Regions from separate parts of the Homo sapiens genome. Here region 2 is linked to region 1. Evidence: promoter capture Hi-C in 16 types of primary human blood cells and fetal thymus (Javierre and others, 2016). All regions are on one chromosome and are shown on one strand. Each heading gives the region's core, a stretch centred on a gene start or on the middle of the fragment in contact. The rest is flanking DNA. Distances are from core to core; before and after follow the strand shown. Region 1 holds the start of ZNF556 (zinc finger protein 556). Region 2 overlaps LMNB2 (lamin B2).

Evidence for each region. Contacts are between HindIII fragments. The CHiCAGO score rates a contact against its expected background, and 5 or more counts as called.
Region 2: a contact is called between a fragment that was not itself captured here and the fragment with the promoter of ZNF556 in region 1, in 1 of 17 cell types (M2 macrophages). The highest score is 5.5, in M2 macrophages.

What each region holds. Positions count from the first base shown.
Region 1 is chr19:2,865,015-2,869,675 of GRCh38, reverse strand. ZNF556 (zinc finger protein 556) reads right to left here and starts at 2,341. Exons shown (of 4, transcript NM_024967.3): 1 at 2,252-2,341. The coding sequence starts at 2,254. The HindIII fragment of the contact is 3,420 bases long and covers 1-2,975 here.
Region 2 is chr19:2,436,030-2,440,690 of GRCh38, reverse strand. LMNB2 (lamin B2) reads left to right here. Exons shown (of 12, transcript NM_032737.4): 3 at 2,160-2,316; 4 at 2,403-2,528. Among named protein-coding and RNA genes, the nearest start is that of MIR7108, 3.4 kb to the right of the region's middle. The HindIII fragment of the contact is 1,574 bases long and covers 1,659-3,232 here.

The sequences.
Region 1 (4,661 bases), core at 1,092-3,591:
GGAGATCTAGGCCGGGCGCGGTGGCTCACGCCTGTTAATCCCAGCACTTTGGGAGGCCGAGGTGGGCGGATCATGAGGTCAGGAGATTGAGACCATCCTGGCTGACAAGGTGAAACCCCGTCTCCACTAAAGTACAAAAAAATTAGCCAGGCGTGGTGGAGGGCACCTGTAGTCCCAGCTACCCAGGAGGCTGAGGCAGGAGAATGGCATGAACCCGGGAGGCGGAGCTTGCAGTGAGCTGAGATCGCGCCACTGCACTCCAGCGTCGGTGACAGAGCAAGACTCCGTCTCAAAAAATAAAAAATTTAAAAAAAGAGGAGATATAAAATTTCCTCATGGGCTCAAGGTGGGGCAAGACAGAGCAGGAAGAATCAAGGAAGACTAATTATTTCACACAGGAAAGCTGGAATAATGGAGTTACCAGCAACTGAGATGTAGGCGGTAATATGTGGACCAGGCTCTTGGGGAGAGGATGAGGATATACTGCAGTGCAGCTGAGAATAAGGCATTCAAGTGGACACACATGTAATAATGTCTTTAGGGGCACTGGTCACAATGGAAAAAATTTGAAAATACCCGAATAGTCACTAGCAAGCAGTGGAATTAATGAACACTAACAATATATCCCTATGAGTGAATATAAAAGAGTGATAAAGGGGCCAGGTGTGGTGGCTCACGCCTGTAATCCCAGCACTTTGGGAGGCTGAGGTGGGTGGATCAGCTGAGGTCAGGAGTTCGAGACCAGCCTGGCCAACATGGTGGAACCCCGTCTCTACTAAAAATACAAAAATTAGCTGGGTGTGGCCACACGTGCCTGTAATCCCAGCTATTCGGGAGGCTGAGGTAGGAGAATCGCTTGAACCCAGGAGGCGGAGGTTGCAGTAAGCAGAGATCGCGCCATTGCACTCCAGCCTGGGTGACAGAGCGAGGCTCCATCTGAAAAAAAAAAAAAAATTAGCTAGTCATGGTGGCACATGCTGCCTGTAATCCAAGCATTCTGGGAGGCCAAGGCGGGTGGATCACCTGAGGTCAGGAGTTGGAGACCAGCTTGGCCAACATGGTAAAACCCTGTCTCCACTAAAAATACAAAAATTAGCTGGACGTGGTGGCACACACCTGTAGTCCCAGCTGCTGGGGAGGCTGAGGCAGGAGAATCAATCGCTTGAACTCAGGAGGCGGAGGTTGCAGTGAGCCGAGATCGCGCCACTGCACTCCAGCCTGGGTGACAGAGCAAGACTCCGTTTCAAAAAATAAAAACAAAAAATAAAAGAACAGAATTATCATCTATCACAAATTCTCCATCCTGGAAAAGGAGAATAACTGATATTTTAGCGAGTTTTTGTAATTCACCAAATTATATACCAAACATTTTTTTCTTGTAGGAATGTATTCATTTCGGGGCGTGTCATAATAAAAGAGAGATTTTCTCTCTTTCTCTGCGATTCTTTTTCCCGGGAGCCCCGTCAAGGGCTAAGCCCTGGAATCCCATTTGTCATCACCGAAAATAAAACAACAGATGTGAGAAACTTAACCACACGGGCAAAAAAGGAACAGAAAATAAAAAGAAAAAAAAAAGGCACGCTAGAATTTTTAACAAATGGAATGTAAGACGAGAACTTTATTTTTTTCTGAAATTCACCTCCTTGGAAATATTTTATCTTTCAAACTCTATTATTTACTGTATGTTCCATTGACTGAAAAAATCTGAGGCTCAAGTAACCAAATCAATCTTTAGAAGGAGAGAGGCCCAGGCAGGGGCGGCTGGGCTGGAGTCCGGCCTGCGGGCCTTTGGGGTCAGGCCAGCCCGTGCCGCCACGTGGAGCGCCCGCACCACCTGTCCACCCCTCGCCCCTCCCAGGGACGTGGGCCTGGGCCCAAAGTCTGCATCCAAAGCGCATTCTGCTTTGGGGCTGTTGCACCGCCTCGCTGGGGTGAGGTTTTTTTTTTTTTTGTTTTGTTTTTTGTACTTTGGGTTAGTTTTTCTTCCAATTAACTTCGCGAGACCCCACAGGGCAGGAGTCATTTCTGCCTTTTTTTCCCCTCCATCCCAGCGTCCTGACAACTACGACTTTCCAGGGAATGAAGACTGGGGCAGGGGAGGAAACTCCCCGCAGGACCCGGGGGTGACACAGGGACAGAGGCTGCATGGGGGTTCCGGGCGGCTCCCCCGGGAGTTTCAGCGTGTTCTGGCCGCTTCCAACCCTCCCCTCCCAGGGCTCCGGCTCCGGCTCGGCTCCTGCCCTGCACTCACCATGTCCTGTCCGTTCCTGAGCTCTTTGAGGAGCTCCCTGCTCCTCGCAGCCGGTGCAGGTGAGCACGACGGGGACACCTGTGGTCACTCAGGGCAGGCCGGGTGTGCTCTGCAGGGAGGACAGCAACGCCCCGCCCCTGGGGCTGTGATTGGATGGTTCTCTTCTCTGCTCATCTCTGATTGGAGAGTTCACCAGTCACATCCCAACTCCCCTGATTGGACAGTTCTTTAGACTCTGCCCCTCCTCTTCTGGTTGGTCAGCTTGCTATCCCCTGAGCTCCCCTGATTGGGCAGTTCTTCAGGCCCCACCCCAGCTTTCCTAATTGGTCATGTTTCCACGCCCTGCCTCAGCTCCTTTGATTTGACAGGTCTCCAGGCTCTGCCCCAACCCCCCTGATTGACAGTTCTCATCCGGATGCTCCACCTCAACTCCCCTGATTGGTCAGTTCTCTAGGCCCCACCCCAGCTGCCTGATTGGTCAGTTTTCAGGTCTCGGGTCCTGCAGGCAGCAGCCCCCATCCACGGTGGTCTCCTTCCTGAAATGAAAGTGGTACTGACTTAGAGGGAAACCTGGGCCCTTGGGGTATCCACCGTAGAAAAAAGCAGCTTCTTCTGTCCTCAGTCTGTTGTCAGATTCCATGACACTGGAGGAGGTCCCCTCTCTCTCCTGACCAGTAGACACCTGGGGAGGCCCATGGGGTCAAGTGAGTGACCAACGAAAGCTTTACCATTCCCTAACTAGGGTCAGCACAATTGCTAGAACTGAACTCTTGAGCCATTAGCAATGGTCTAGCCAGCCGGGCGCGGTGGCTCATGCCTGTAATCACAGCACTTTGGGAGGCCAAGGTGGGTGGATCACCTGAGGTCAGGAGTTTGAGACCAGTGTGGCCAACATGATGAAACCCTGTCTTTACTAAAAATACAAAAAATTAGCCGGGTGTGGTGGTGGGTGCCTGTAATCCCAGCTACTCGGAGGCTAAGGGGGAAGAATCGCTTGAACCTGGAAGGCGGAGGTTGCAGTGAGCTGAGATTGCCCCACTGCACTCAGCCTAGGCAACAAGAGGGAAACTCCGTCTCAAAAACAACAACAACAACAAAAACATAGAAAACAAAACAAAACAAAAAAACCGAAAACACACTTAAAAAAAACTGTGGCAACAACTGTATCCTAGGTCAATATTTTGAGGTTAAAGCACTCTGGGGATATTTTGCCTCACAGTTTCTCAAGTAAAAATCAAGGTCACGAATATCTGTGTACCTATGAAAACTCAAACACCACAGCTGAGCGCTCAATGTGCAGGCAGATGAATAGTCTACAGGCAAATGACATATAATCAAGGAGGCATAATCCCTGGAAGCCTGTTGGTAGGGCTGAGAGCAAATAGATTTTATAGGGTCCCCGCCCACCTTTGCAGAGGCTATTCCGTATACTGTGATCACGGAAGCCACTTAAATGCAAATATTCCTTACCAATCCCACCAGACGTTCTCCTGCTGAGCCACAATACAGGGTTTCACCAAGACCCGCCCTTCCCTTGGGGTTACAGATGCTACTGACAGTGATCAAGGTGCTCAGTTCTTTTCTCAAACGACACTGTAGCGAGATTGATAAGGAATCAGAGAGACCGATGGGGTTCAGGAGGATATTTATTATTTAGCTGCACCAGCCCAGTCCGATTAACACCCAAAGGACTGAGCCCTGAACAAAGAGTTAAGTTACCTTTGAAGCATTTTGTGGGGCCGGGGGAGATCTGTGCAGGGGGAAGCATATTACAGAAGCGAGAGACAAAGAGAGTTATTCAATTAATTGAGACGTGCATTACATCATTTCTTACTTTTCAAGGCAAAACATGTTTTGCAACTTGAGTTTATCTGTCTAGTGAACTTGCAGCTGCACAACTAGGGAAACAGGGCCTTCACAATGCCTGGGAAGGGAGGAGAGATAAGGCTCACTAGCCACAGAAAAACAGGCAGTTAATTTTTAAAAGACTCCAGCTCTTTCTTGTTCTCAGGGGGAATTGGGTTTTCTTACATACAACTGAGTTTCTGCTTACACATTCTTTAATCTGTTTTAATTCCTGTTCCAACACAACACTGGGCTCTTTTATTTATTTATTTATTTATTTATTTTATTTTAATTTTTTGAGATGGAGTCTCGCTTAGTCACCAGGCTGGAGTGTAGTGGTGCAATCTCAGCTCACTGCAACCCCTACCTCCCGGGTTCAAGCGGTTCTCCTGCCTCAGCATCCCCAGTAGCTGGGACTACAGGTGCCCGCCACTACGCCCAGCTAATTTTTGTATTTTTAGTAGAGACAGGGTTTCACCATGTTGGTCAGGATGGTCTTGGTCTCTTGACCTCGTGATCCACCTGTCTCAGCCTCCCAAAGTGCTGGGATTACAGGCATGAGCCA
Region 2 (4,661 bases), core at 1,196-3,695, 430 kb after region 1:
GGATGGATGGAAGGATGGATGGATGGAGATGATGGATAGATGATGGATGGATGAGTAGATGGATGGATGGATGATGGGTGGATGGATAGATGGACAGATGAGTGGATGGATGGATGGATGATGGGTGGATGGATGGATGGATGATGGGTAGATGGATAGACAGTAATAGATAGAGCAATAGATAGATATAGCTATCTGTAAGGCTGGGTGCGGTGGCTCATGCCTGTAATCCCAGCACTTTGGGAGGCCAAGGCGGACAGATCACTTGAGGATGGGAGTTCAAGACCAGGCTAACCAACATGGAGAAACCCCGTCTCTACTAAAAATACAAAATTATCTGGGCGTGCTGGCACTTGCCTGTAATCTCAGCTACTTGGGAGGCTGAGGGAGGAGAATCGCTTGAACCCGGGAGGTGGAGGTTGCAGTGAACCGAGATCGCACCATTGCACTCCAGCCTGGGCAACAAGAGCGAAACTCCATCTCAAAAAAAAAAAAAAAGATACAGCCATCTGTAGAATTGATATATACGGACATAGATTATATAGATAAATACAGTTATTGATGGAGATATACTTAGACAGACATACGGTCACTTTCAGCTATGGGTCACTTTCATTTCTTGGGCAAATGCCTAGGTGGTCTTTTGAAAGGCCCTGGGGGACCAGGCGCAGTGGTTCACGCCTGTAATCCCAGCACTTTGGAGGCCGAGGCGGGCAGATCACCTGAGGTTGGGAGTTCGAGACCAGCCTGGCCAACATGGAGAAACCCCATCTCTACTAAAAATAAAAAATTAGCGGACGCTGGTGGCGCATGCCTGTAATCCCAGCTACACAGGAGGCTGAGGCAGGAGAATTGTTTGAACCCGGGAGGCGGAGGTTGCAGTGAGCCGAGATCACGCCATTGCAATCCAGCCTGGGCAACAAGAGCGAAACTCCAACTCAAAAAAAAAAAAAGGCTCTAGGGAGAGTCGGGAGTGCATTCTGCTGGGCAGGAGAGGTCCCTGTCACTTCTGACCTCTGGCCACGGGCTCGAGCCGCCTGGATGTGGATGTTCTTTGAATGTCCAGCCAGCAGCCTTGGCTGTGTTATTCCAGATACACCCAGTTGTCCCCATCCTGGGGTGATTCTGTCCCCAGGGGACACTGGGTGATTCCTGGGGACACTTGTGGTTGTCAAAACTGGGCAGCAAGAAGCTCCTGGTCTGAAGTGGGTGGAGGCCAGGGACAGTGCTCAGCACCCTGCAGTGCCTAGGACCACCCCAAATGTCAGCAGTTGTGACGCTGCGGAACCCTGGATGTCCTCACTCGACCACCCCAAATGTCAGCAGTTGTGACGCTGCAGAACCCTGGGTGCCCTCACTCAAGACCACCCCAGATGTCAGCAGTTGTGACGCTGCGGAACCCTGGGTGTCCTCACTGTTTCTTGGGAGGATATAGTTAGTTCCCTGTCGGGAGGGGGTAAAATTCAGCTCCAAGACTTATAATTATGCTTAAAAACATTTAAGAGTCAGCCGTACGCGGTGGCTCGCACCTGTAATCCCAGCACTTTGGGAGGCTGAGACAGGAGGATTCCTTGAGCCCAGGAGTTCGAGACCAGCCTGTGCAAACAAGTGAACCCCTGTCTCTTAAAAAAAAAAAAAAAAAAAAAAAAAAAAAAGCTTAAGTGCCTACAATCCACACTGGTAGTATTTGTGTGTTTAAAAAGCCTGAGTATTTGCTATCTTAAATATCTAATGTTGGAGCTAATTTGGTTTAGTGGAAAACCAGGTGAGCCTGCTTCAGACAGCTTAAGTTTACAAACAAGGCTGACCCTTCAAAGGCCAGGGTCTTTGTAACATTTACAGAGGATGCATTAATTTCTCCCCAAATGGTCGTCCTGGGTCCAGAACAGGCAGGAGAGGCTGGGAAAGCCCATGCCTCCAGGGTGGTCCCAAGCGCTGGTGCCTGTCACTTGCTGGACTCCTGACAGTGCAGGGCAGATGATGAGGGCACGTGTGCCTTTGCCTGGGCGCGTGGGGCCGCGTCGTCTGCAGGACGGGAAGGTCTGGGGCTCGGAGGCCTCGGTGACCTTGTCTTTGGGCTTGCCTGACGCCCCCTGAGGTGCTCCCTGTGGCCCCATGGACCTTGCCCCTCCCCACTCACTTGCCCTCTTGACTTTCAGCGCCAAGAAGAGGGAGGGCGAGCTTACGGTGGCCCAGGGCCGTGTGAAGGACCTGGAGTCCCTGTTCCACCGGAGCGAGGTGGAGCTGGCAGCTGCCCTCAGCGACAAGCGCGGCCTGGAGAGTGACGTGGCTGAGCTGCGGGCCCAGCTGGCCAAGGTAGGTGCCAGGAGCCACGGGACGCCCCAGCAGGGTATATGCAACAGACAGATTGTCACACCAGCTCGCTGTCCTGTGTCTCCCAGGCCGAGGACGGTCATGCAGTGGCCAAAAAGCAGCTGGAGAAGGAGACGCTGATGCGTGTGGACCTGGAGAACCGCTGCCAGAGCCTGCAGGAGGAGCTGGACTTCCGGAAGAGTGTGTTCGAGGAGGTGAGTGAGTGGCCTGGCCTCCAGCCTGGCACAGCGGAAACGCAAAGTCCACCCTCATGGCTGTGGAGGGCGGAAGCCTGAGGGCACCGTGTGGCCGGGGTCCCTCCCACGGCTCTAGGGAGGCTCCTTCCTGCCTCTTAGGGTGCCCTTGGCTTCGGCTGCGTCTCCCCAGTGTCTGCCTCTGTCTTCCCGCGGCTGCCTCCCCTGTGTCCATACTCTGTGTATCCTACAAGGACACTTGTCATTGGATTTGGGGCCTGCCTGGATCATCCAGAGTGACCTAATGGCATCTGCAGAGACCCCATTTCCAAATAAGGTCCATTCACAGCTGCTGGGGATCGGGATGTGGGCACGTCTTTTTTTGAGATGGAGTTTCACTCTGTCACCCATGCTGGAGTGCGGTGGCACGATCTTGGCTCACTGCAACCTCCGCCTCCCAGGTTCAAGCAATTCTCCTGCCTCAGCCTCCCGAGTAGCTGGATTATAGGCGTGCACCACCATGCCCAGGTAATTTATGTATTTTTAGTAGAGACGAGGTTTCACCACGTTGGCCAGGCTGGTCTCGAACTCCTGACCTCAGGTGCTTCATCCGCCTCGGCCTCCCAAACTGCTGGGATTCCAGGCGTGAGTCACCATGCCCAGCCAAAACATATCTCTTCAGTGTCAAGGAAGGTCTATTTTGATTTCTTGCCTTTCTAAAAGCTTGGTGTTCCCACCCTGAGAGCTGAACCCTGGCCGCCTGGGATCCTAACTGCTAGACCATGAGGCAGGCGTCAGGTGCATCTTCTGGGTGCCACCGTCCAGCCTCCCACAGGGCCTCCTTGTCCAAAGCGAGGGTGAGGCCCGCTCTCCCCACCCAGCCTCCTTCCCTGACCTGCAGCCCCTCACCTGGGGCCTCTGCCTCCGGGGGCTCGGAGAGGGGAGTGGGGAGGAAAGGCGTCAGCCTGTGTCCTTTAGAACCAATTGTGCTGTCACAGTGCAGGGTGGAATGCCGGGGCCGGCCGGGCCCACACTCCCTGCCCAGGGAGAGCTGCTGGCTGCTGGTGGAGGGATGTCCAGGCCGCTCAGGAGCTGCGCCCCGCTCTGGCCAGGCCCAGGGAGTGGGGGGGGCCCCACAGGAGCCAGAGGGGAGGCCGCCAGGGCAGTTGTGAAGGGGCCTGTGGGGAAACCTGTGAGACAGCCCGTGAAGAGACTCACGAGAGCTTCTGTGCGGGGGCCCAGGAACGTGCCCCAGGTGGAACCCACAGGGCACCTGGGAAAAGACCCACGAAGGCGGTGCAGGGGCCGGGAAGAGGCCCTGGAGGGGCCCTCACAGGGAGCTGCGGTAGGGAGCTTGATGATGCAGGCCTGTGCAGCCCACAGGGTGCGGAGTCCTGGAGAGGGCGGCCGTGGGGGCGGAAGGGCGGCCGTGGAGGTGGGTGCGCGGCTGTGGTGGCGGGAGGGCGGCCGTGGAGGTGGGTGCGCGGCCGTGGTGGCGGGAGGGTGGCCGTGGAGGCGAGAGGGCGGCCGTGGAGGTGGGTGCGCGGCTGTGGGGGTGGGAGGGCGGCAGTGCAGGTGGGTGAGCGGCCGTGGAGGTGGGTGCGCAGCCGTGAAGGCGGGAGGGCGGCTGTGCAGGCGGGTGCGCGGCCGTGGAGGCGGGAGGGCGGCCGTGGAGGTGGGTGCGCGGCCCGCAGGGCTCTGCTTGCCTGGGCTACCCGCCTTGCTGACTGCAAAGGTGGCCAGCTTCCTTCAGAAGCGTTTCTACTGTTTTTGTTTTGTTTTGTTTTGTTTTGTTTTGTTTTTGAGATGGAGTCTTGCTCTGTTGCCCACACTGGGCCCAGCCTCCCGAGTAGCTGGGATTATAGGTGCACAGCACCACACCCAGCTAATTTTTTTCTTTTGAGACGGAGTCTTGCTCTGTCACCCAGGCTGGAGTACGGTGGCATGATCTCAGCTCACTGCAACCTCCGCCTCCTGGGTTCAAGCGATTCTCCTGCCTCAGCCTCCTGAGTAGCTGGGATTATAGGCGGGTGCCACCAACCCGACTAATTTTTGTATTTTTAGTACAGACGGGGTTTTCACCATGTTTGTCAGGCTGGTCTTGAACTTCTGACCTCATGATCCACCTGTCTTAGCCTCCCAAAGTGCTGGGAT